2 separate regions of the Homo sapiens genome follow, and region 2 is linked to region 1. Evidence: promoter capture Hi-C in 16 types of primary human blood cells and fetal thymus (Javierre and others, 2016). All regions are on one chromosome and are shown on one strand. The core of a region is centred on a gene start or on the middle of the fragment in contact, and the rest is flanking DNA. Distances in the headings are between cores, read along the strand shown.

Evidence for each region. The method cuts DNA at HindIII sites, captures the fragments that hold promoters and counts their contacts. A CHiCAGO score of 5 or more calls a contact.
Region 2: a fragment that was not itself captured here is called in contact with the fragment with the promoter of THRAP3 in region 1 in 1 of 17 cell types (neutrophils); the score reaches 5.7 in neutrophils.

Annotation. Positions count from the first base shown.
Region 1 is chr1:36,222,831-36,226,975 of GRCh38, reverse strand. THRAP3 (thyroid hormone receptor associated protein 3) reads right to left here and starts at 2,533. Exons shown (of 12, transcript NM_005119.4): 1 at 2,471-2,533. RefSeq lists enhancers at 2,087-2,615, 2,447-2,656, 2,616-3,143, 3,057-3,356, 3,567-3,736 and a silencer at 2,787-2,906. The HindIII fragment of the contact is 1,255 bases long and covers 1,648-2,902 here.
Region 2 is chr1:36,425,897-36,429,616 of GRCh38, reverse strand. The region is part of intron 4 of OSCP1 (organic solute carrier partner 1); the gene reads left to right. Among named protein-coding and RNA genes, the nearest start is that of SNORA63C, 9.2 kb to the right of the region's middle. The HindIII fragment of the contact is 3,633 bases long and covers 91-3,720 here.

The DNA of each region.
Region 1 (4,145 bases), core at 1,284-3,783:
TCAGTGTCTATCAGAGTCCTGAACTGGACACCTCTATGTTACTTTTCTCAATTTGTAGTTTATTTGCTTACCTTTTGTGTTCCCCGCCCCCAACAATCCTGTTAAGTTTCCAAAAGACAAGACCTCATCTGTCATCACACCCTAATATATTCACAGGCCCACAACAGAAGCTGGTAAATGACAGGCTCTCAAGTAGTATTTGTTGAATAAATTACCCAATCAACCAGAGTCAAACAGTGAACAGATCTTAGATGTTTATAGAATATGTGTGAAAAAATCCACCAAAACCCTGTATTTGAGAGAATAGCATTAACCAGACTTCCTTGCATTCAGGATGTCAATATGCCCTACAGAAACAGGGTAGCGCCCTAAAATGCTTAGTGGTTAGGACTATCCATTCTAAAAATAATAAATCGTGGCCGGGCGCGGTGGCTTACGCCTGTAATCCCAGCACTTTGGGAGGCCGAGGCAGGTGATCCCCTGAAGTCAGGAGTTCAAGACTAGCCTGGCCAACATGGTGAAACCCCGTCTCTACTACAAATACAAAAATGAGCCAGGCGTGGTGACACACACCTGTAATCCCAGCTACTCAGGAGGCAGAAGCAGGAGAATCGCTTGAACCCAGGAGGCGGAGGTTGCAGTGAGCCGAGATTGTGCCCCTGCACTCCAGCCTGGGTGACAGCGCGAGACTTTGTCTCAAAAAATAATAATAATAATAAATCGTATGTCTGTGTACCCTCCCAGTCATCAACATTTCCCATCTCTGTGCTAATCTCAGAAATATTCCAAGCTTCCTCCCTCCAATTCCTCGGAACAAAATAGATCACTCTTTTTGTAATCCATATTTTGCAGGCTAAACCAAATTTAAAAGTACCTATATATTTGGTATTAAATAAATACACTAAGGTGGTACTACTACTACCATCACCACTGCTAAAATTGAACTGTACCTAGTCTACAAAACTAAAAACATCAGTCTCCAAAATTGGAGATCTTTCTCTGGTGTTAAAACGTTTAAAAAACAAAGAGATGGAATTACACTGGATATAGAGGTTTTTAATCAAATCACTTCTTACAGAAACCTCAACACAACTCTCTTACAAAATGCAATTAAGCCCAAATGGCTGCAGTAAAACTTATCATTAACGTATGAACATTGGCTCACAAAATACATCTCCCGGCAAAGAACAAACTGAGCCCGATTTGCTCCACAAGTTGTTCATGGCAGGAGCCGGTTTTGGCTATTTAACAAGCTTCTAAATCATAATACACACGTCAGACTGTCTAGAATTACAGAACAGACTACAACAGTACTTCCACAAACGAAAAAAGTCAGGGTCATCTGAAACAGAAGAAAAATAACGGTGTGATACACGCCTCATCTCTCTCGGCGCACACTCTAAAAAAAAAACCTATAAATGATGATATTACTTTTTAACAGTGGCTAAGTGATTTTTATTTTATCTCATTTAGTCTCCACAATAACCCTGTAAAGGGGTCACTGTTACTTACTGCTGTTTTAGTGATAAGAAAACTGAGGCAGCTGGAGATGAAGACTCTTGACCTAAGATCAAAAGATAGCAGGGCCAAGATTTAAACCCAAGCCAACTGGTTCAGGATACTTCTGTTATGCTCCCAACAGAAGCTTCACTGCCTCTCTCTTGCCAGGTCCTTCTATACTCTCAGAGGCTTTCCCTTCACCCCAAGTAACAAATTCCCCATAAACACTGTACTGCCACTGATGGCTTCCAACTTCTGTGCACCATTGCTGCTCCCCAGCTTCTGCTGCCATGCTCCACCCCTAAGATTTGTAAAGTCAAAGACAACAGTTGATAAAAGTTGCTTAGGTGCTAAGAGAAGCAAAATAATTCACCTCATATAAGCAGAACTCACGCCGATTGCCACTGGAATGCAAGCCGGCCTCAGCTCCAGCCCAAGAAAAAAGTGAGAACTCTAATATTCCCGTAGGAGACAAATTTGGACTATCCCGTTTTTGGCCACCAGGCTGGAAAGAACGGAAGCGGTACTAACATTTACTGAGTGGCAGCCACATGCGCCCTAGGAGAAGACCGAACCAGGCCAATGGGGACTGGGTGGGGGGAAGGGCACTCGGGAGTTCCGGGAAAAGAAATCCAAATAACGGGGTTCATACGACCAAAACGGGAGGAGTAGGGAGTGGCCGCCCCCAGGCCGACTGCAAGATAAAGCGGCGTAGGAGCTGCTCTGCAGAGAAGGCGACCAAGAGCCTTGGGAGCTAGGCCGGGGCCAGGGGAAGACCTAAAGGGCGGGGAAGGGGAGGAGCCGGAGGGAACGGAGCCCGCTCAGAAGAGGCCAGGGTGTAAGCTGGGGGGAGCGACTCCACGCCAGGCCTTCCCCGAGCCCCTGACCAGCAGCTGGGGAAAAAAGATAAGAGACGAAACCACTAGAGCCGGTTAAGCTGCCCTAACTTCCATCAGAGGCGCTCACTCACCTGGGCCTACCACAGAGATCGCAGCTGCAGCTCGCAACGGAACAACCAGCCCGAACCTCGCCCCCGCCCCACAGCGCGCCCAGCGTCTCCGCTCTCCGACGACGGCGACGGCGTAGACCCGCTGCCTCCTGGGAAATGTAGTCCTACGCCCTCCTCTCCTGGCCGACTTGGCTGCCATCAGAACTACGTTTCCCAAAAGACAAGGCGAGCGTTGGGCCCGCCGCTTTGCGTCACGCGCTCGGTTGTCGGCGGTCACGTGGGTTGCTCGGGGCCGTCCCCTCCCCCCGCCTGGGTGGCCTGGAGATGGAGGAGGGCGGTGGACGGAAGGGGCGGGGGCGTTGCTGACGCCACTGCCCCCACCATTTTGGAACCAGCCTGGAGGGAGAGTCTGAGCCCCACCCACTCCGGGCCAGCTTGCCTTGTTGAAAAGCTTCCGAGTTGGAAGTCGAGTCTCCCTGTTTTTGGTCTCTGCTGCGCTCCCTTCCGCTTTGTGACCTTGAGCAAATTCATCCCTCCTCTCTAAACTTGTTTCCTCCCCTGTGAAATGAGACTTGTAATTTCTACCCCACAGCGATGTTGCCAGGCTCCGACAAAGTAAGGCACAGGAAAGCCTCAAGCACCCTGAAAGCGCAACGCAAATGGAGGGGTTGGTTTGGTTTCGTTTTTTTAATTTTAATTGTGTGACCTCATTCGGAGACCCAGAAACCGCCTCTCCCCAGCCTGCCTTCTGTAACTATGATTTTCTGACTGTCGTCCTGGGAAGTTTGTTAAAATGGGTGCTACTGGGGTATTGAACCAAAAGTTTACCGGGGAGTGTCTCCCTGCAGTCTACATTTTAAACCGATCTCTCGGGTGATTCTTACCCACCTACAAATTTGAGAATCTCTGCGTTTATCAGTTTTGCACAGGCTGGTTTCCTCCGGAATTTCTGCTCTAGTGTCTCTGAACATTTAAGACCCATCTCATAGGTCATCTGTGATGCTTTCAAAGTTGACTAGCTCCTCCCTATGCCTGTGTTCCCACAGTAAGTTTGCATCTTACTCTGTAAGTATCGGGGCCTTCCCCGACAAGACTGTGAGCTCTTTGAGAGCCGAGATCAGTTTTGATGGATTTCTGCACCTCCAGAGAAAAGTAGACACAGTACACATCAATTAATAAAGAAATCTAATGCTCTTCCTAAGAGAAAAGCTGCAAGGCTCAACTCAAGTAGCAGACCACGCCACATCAGCCCTTGCCCTTAGTGGCTTCGGCAGCATTCCTTGCACACGGCTTACTCTTTCTTCCTTCTTTGAGCACTTCTTGTGGTCGACGTACTGCGCAGTGCTTCTTAAAACGTTCTAATTTAATTGATTTTATTTTTATTTATTTATTTATTTATTTATTGAGATTCTCCCTATGTCGCCCAGGCTGGAGGGCAGTGGTGCGATTTTGGGTCACTGCAACATCTGCCTCCCAGGTTCAAGCGATTCTCCTGCCTAAGCCTCCTGAGTAGCTGATTTTACGGGCATATGCCACCACCCGGCTAATTTTTCTACTTTTTGTGGAGACGGGGTTTCGCCACGTTGGCCAAGCTGGTATCAGACTCCTGACCTCAAGTGATCCACCTGCCTCGGCCTTCCAAAGTGCTGGGATTACAGGCGTGAGCCACGGGGCTGAACCAATGTAATTTTAAATT
Region 2 (3,720 bases), core at 658-3,157, 200 kb before region 1:
AGTGAGCCATGGTGGATCCATGATTCAGACCAGGTGTCAGAGCGAGACCATGTCTCAAAAAAAAAAAAAAAAAAAAAAAAATTCTAAGCTTCTGAATTTTGAATGTGTCTCTCTTGGACAGGGCTTTGTTTCCTGCCACAATTTAACCAACTGATGTGGGAAAGATGGTATGATATGGTAAAACAAGCCCAGGCTCTGGAGCCAGACATGTTTCTCTTTTTTTTTTTTTTTGAGACAGGTTCTCATTTTGTTGCCCAGACTGGAGTATGGTGGCACAATCATGGCTCACTGCAGCCTCAATCTCCTGGGCTCAAGTGACCTTCCACCTCAGCCTCTCGAGTAACTGGGACTACAGGAGCATGCCACCACGCCTGGCTAATTTTTTGTATTTTTTGTAGAGACAGAATCTTGCTTTGTTGCCCAGGTTGGTCTTGAACTCCTGAGCTCAAGCAATCTGCCTGCCTTGGCCTCTCAAAGTGCTGGGATTACAAGTGTGAGCCACTGTGCCCAGCTTCACCTTTCTCTTTGAATCTCAACTCCAGAGCTGGCCACAGTGGCGAGTGCCTGTAGTCTGAACTACTTGGGATATTGAGGCAGGAGGATCACTTCAGCCCAGGAGTTCAAGACCATCCTGGGCAACATAGTGAGACTCTGTCCTTAAAATAAAATGTTTTGTTTTTGAGACAGAGTCTCACTCTGTCTGGAATGCAGTGGCACAATCTCGGCTTACTGCAACCTCCACCTCCCGGGTTCAAGCAATTCTCCTGCCTCAGCCTCCCAAACAGCTGAGATTACAGGCGCCTGCCAACACGCCTGGCTAATTTTTGTATTTTTAGTAGAGATGGGGTTTCACCATGTTAGCCAGGCTGGTCTCAAATTCTTGACCTCAGGCGATCCGCCCGCCTCAGCCTCCCAAAGTGCTGGGATTACAGGCATGAGCCACCATGCCCAGCCAAAATAAAACAATTTTTAATTAAGAAAATGAATCCCAACTATAGGACTAGCTCCATGACCTTGGGCAAAATAACTTCTCTTAAGTCTTAGTTTCTTCATCTGAAAAATGAAAATTATAATACCTAATTTTGTTGGATTAACTGAAACAGCATATGTAACATATATGTATTTGTTTGTGCATATACAGAGAGAGTGCTTCTGGAAGCATATGCAAGAAACTGTTCACAGTGCACAGTGTTGCCTTCCAGGAGTGGGGAACTATATGGAGGACAGGAGAAGGAGACTGACTTTCCATTATGTATACCCTTTTGAGAACTTTGAGTTTTGTACCTGGGCAAAATAAAATTTTAAAAAGGGGAAGAAATGCAATGTATTTAGTGCCTTATTGTATTTCCCTTCCATGGACAAAGGAAGATAAATAGATTTCAATTCTGATGCCAAATTTTTCTTTCTTTTTTTTTTTTTTTTTTTTTGAGATGCAGTCTGGCTCTGTCGCCCAGGCTGGAGTGCAGTGGCACCATCTCAGCTCACTGCAACCTCCACCTCCCTGGTTCAAGCAATTCCCCTGCCTCAGCCTCCCGAGTAGCTGGGATTACAGGTGCACACCGCCACATCCAGCTAATTTTTTTGTATTTTTAGTAGAGACGGGGTTTAACCACGTTGGCCAGACTGGTCTTGAACTCCTGACCTCAGGCAATCCACCCGCCTCGGCCTCCCAAAGTGCTGGAATTATAGGCGCGAGCCACAGCGCCCGGCCTTATTTTTAACTCTCATGAAGAATTGTATTTGCTATGGATGAAGCAATAATAACATCAATATAAATTAAGATCTCTGTCATTGATTAAAATAAAAAATATGAAAGTACAAATAAGATTAAGTTTTTCATTAAATTTAAAATAACAATTTTGAAATATTAAAAATTCTGTATCATATTGTTATCAGGGCTGCATATTTGGGTATTATTTTATGGATTGGTAGTAACATAAACAGCCATATTGATTTCCCAGTTCCGACAAGATAAAATTCATTATAATGAAAAGGCTTTCAGCTGGGTGCAGTGGCTCACGCCTGTAATCCCAGCACTTTGGGAGGCCAAGGCGGGCAGATCACAAGGTCAAGAGATCGAGACCATCCTGGCCAACATGGTGAAACCCCGTCTCTACTAAAAATACAAAAATTAGCTGGGCGTGATAATATTCTGACTGGGAGTGATGGCTCATACCTGTAATCCAAGCACTTTGGGAGGCCAAGGCCGGAGGATTCCTTGAGCCTAGGATTTCAAGGCTGCAGTAAGCTATGATCATGTTCACTGTACTCCAGTCTATGCAACAGAGCAAGACTCTGTGTCAAAAAAAAAAAAAAAGGCCAGGCGCCATGGCTCACGCCTGTAATCCCAACACTTTGGGAGGCCAAGGCAGGTGGATCATGAGGTCAGGAGTTCGAGACCAGCCTGGCCAAGATGGTGAAACCCCATCTCTACTAAAAAATACAAAAATTAGCCAGGCATGGTGGCGGGCGCCTGTAATCCCAGCTACTCGGGAGGCTGAGGCAGGAGAATCGCTTGAACCCAGGAAGCAGAGGTTGCAGTAAGCCGAGATCATGCCACTGTACTCTAGCCTGGGCGACAGAGCAAGACTCCATCTCAAAAAAAAAAAGAGGCCAGGCACCATGGCACACACCTGTAATCCCAGCACTTTGGGAGGCTGAGGCAGGCAGATCACTTGAGGTCAGGAGTTCGAGACCAGCCTGGCCAACATGGTGAAACCCCGTCCCTACTAAGAATACAAAAATTAGCTGGGTGTGGTGGCACATGCCTGTAGTCCCGGCTATTCAGGAGGCTGAGGTAGGAGAATCACTTGAACCCGGGAGGCAGAGGTTGCAGTGAGCCGAGATCGCACCACTGCACTACAGCCTGGGCTACAGAGCAAGATGCTGCCTTAAAAAATTAAAATAAAAAAATACAGCAGGCGAGAAGGAAGGCAGGGAGACCAGACAGGAGGCTTCTGCAGTGGGGCAGGCAGAAAACAGTGAAGGCCTGCATAGGGAGCAATAGTTGGGGTGGAGAGGAAAGGCTTGGCAACTGAAGGGTTGAGGAAGAGACAAAGATGGGCCCTGTTCTGAGCAGGGGGAATTTGAGGTACATCCTAGGGGACCCATAGATGGAAATGTGTGACAGGCAATGGGATGGATGGGTCAGTGCCAGGGAAGGAGCTGGAGTGGGACCTTGAGATCTGGGAGCCATGAGCTCAGAGGTGAGCCCTGGAGTATGGGAGGAGACGAGATCACCTCGGAAAGGAAAGGGTGGAGGGAGAAGAAAAGGCCAGCAGAGGGGCTGAGCAAGCAAACAGACCTAACAGTCCTCTCCAGCCACTGGCAGAGTCTCAGGCCAAACACAGACACACACATGACCTAAATTTGTACATTTCAGATCTACCATGCCATAGTCAACCTCATAAGATTAAACTAACAGAGTTTCTAGCACATATAAATATTCCCAATTCTCCCTCTAAATTTTCTTTCTCCTTTCTTGTACTCACATCCCTTGGTCACAGAATCTTGAGGTTAAAAATGTCTTAAACGTCATCCAGCAAACCCTCTGACCAAACCAGTTTACATGTTCCCCTGAAAACGTGACTCACACCTGCTCATCTCCATCTCTGAAGTGTCTCTACACCTACCTTCTTCCTCCAGGCTCAGCTCCAGACCCACAGTCACGCCTGCCTCCCCCCAGACTCCCGGCATGCCAGCAGTCATTCTCCTCAGCAA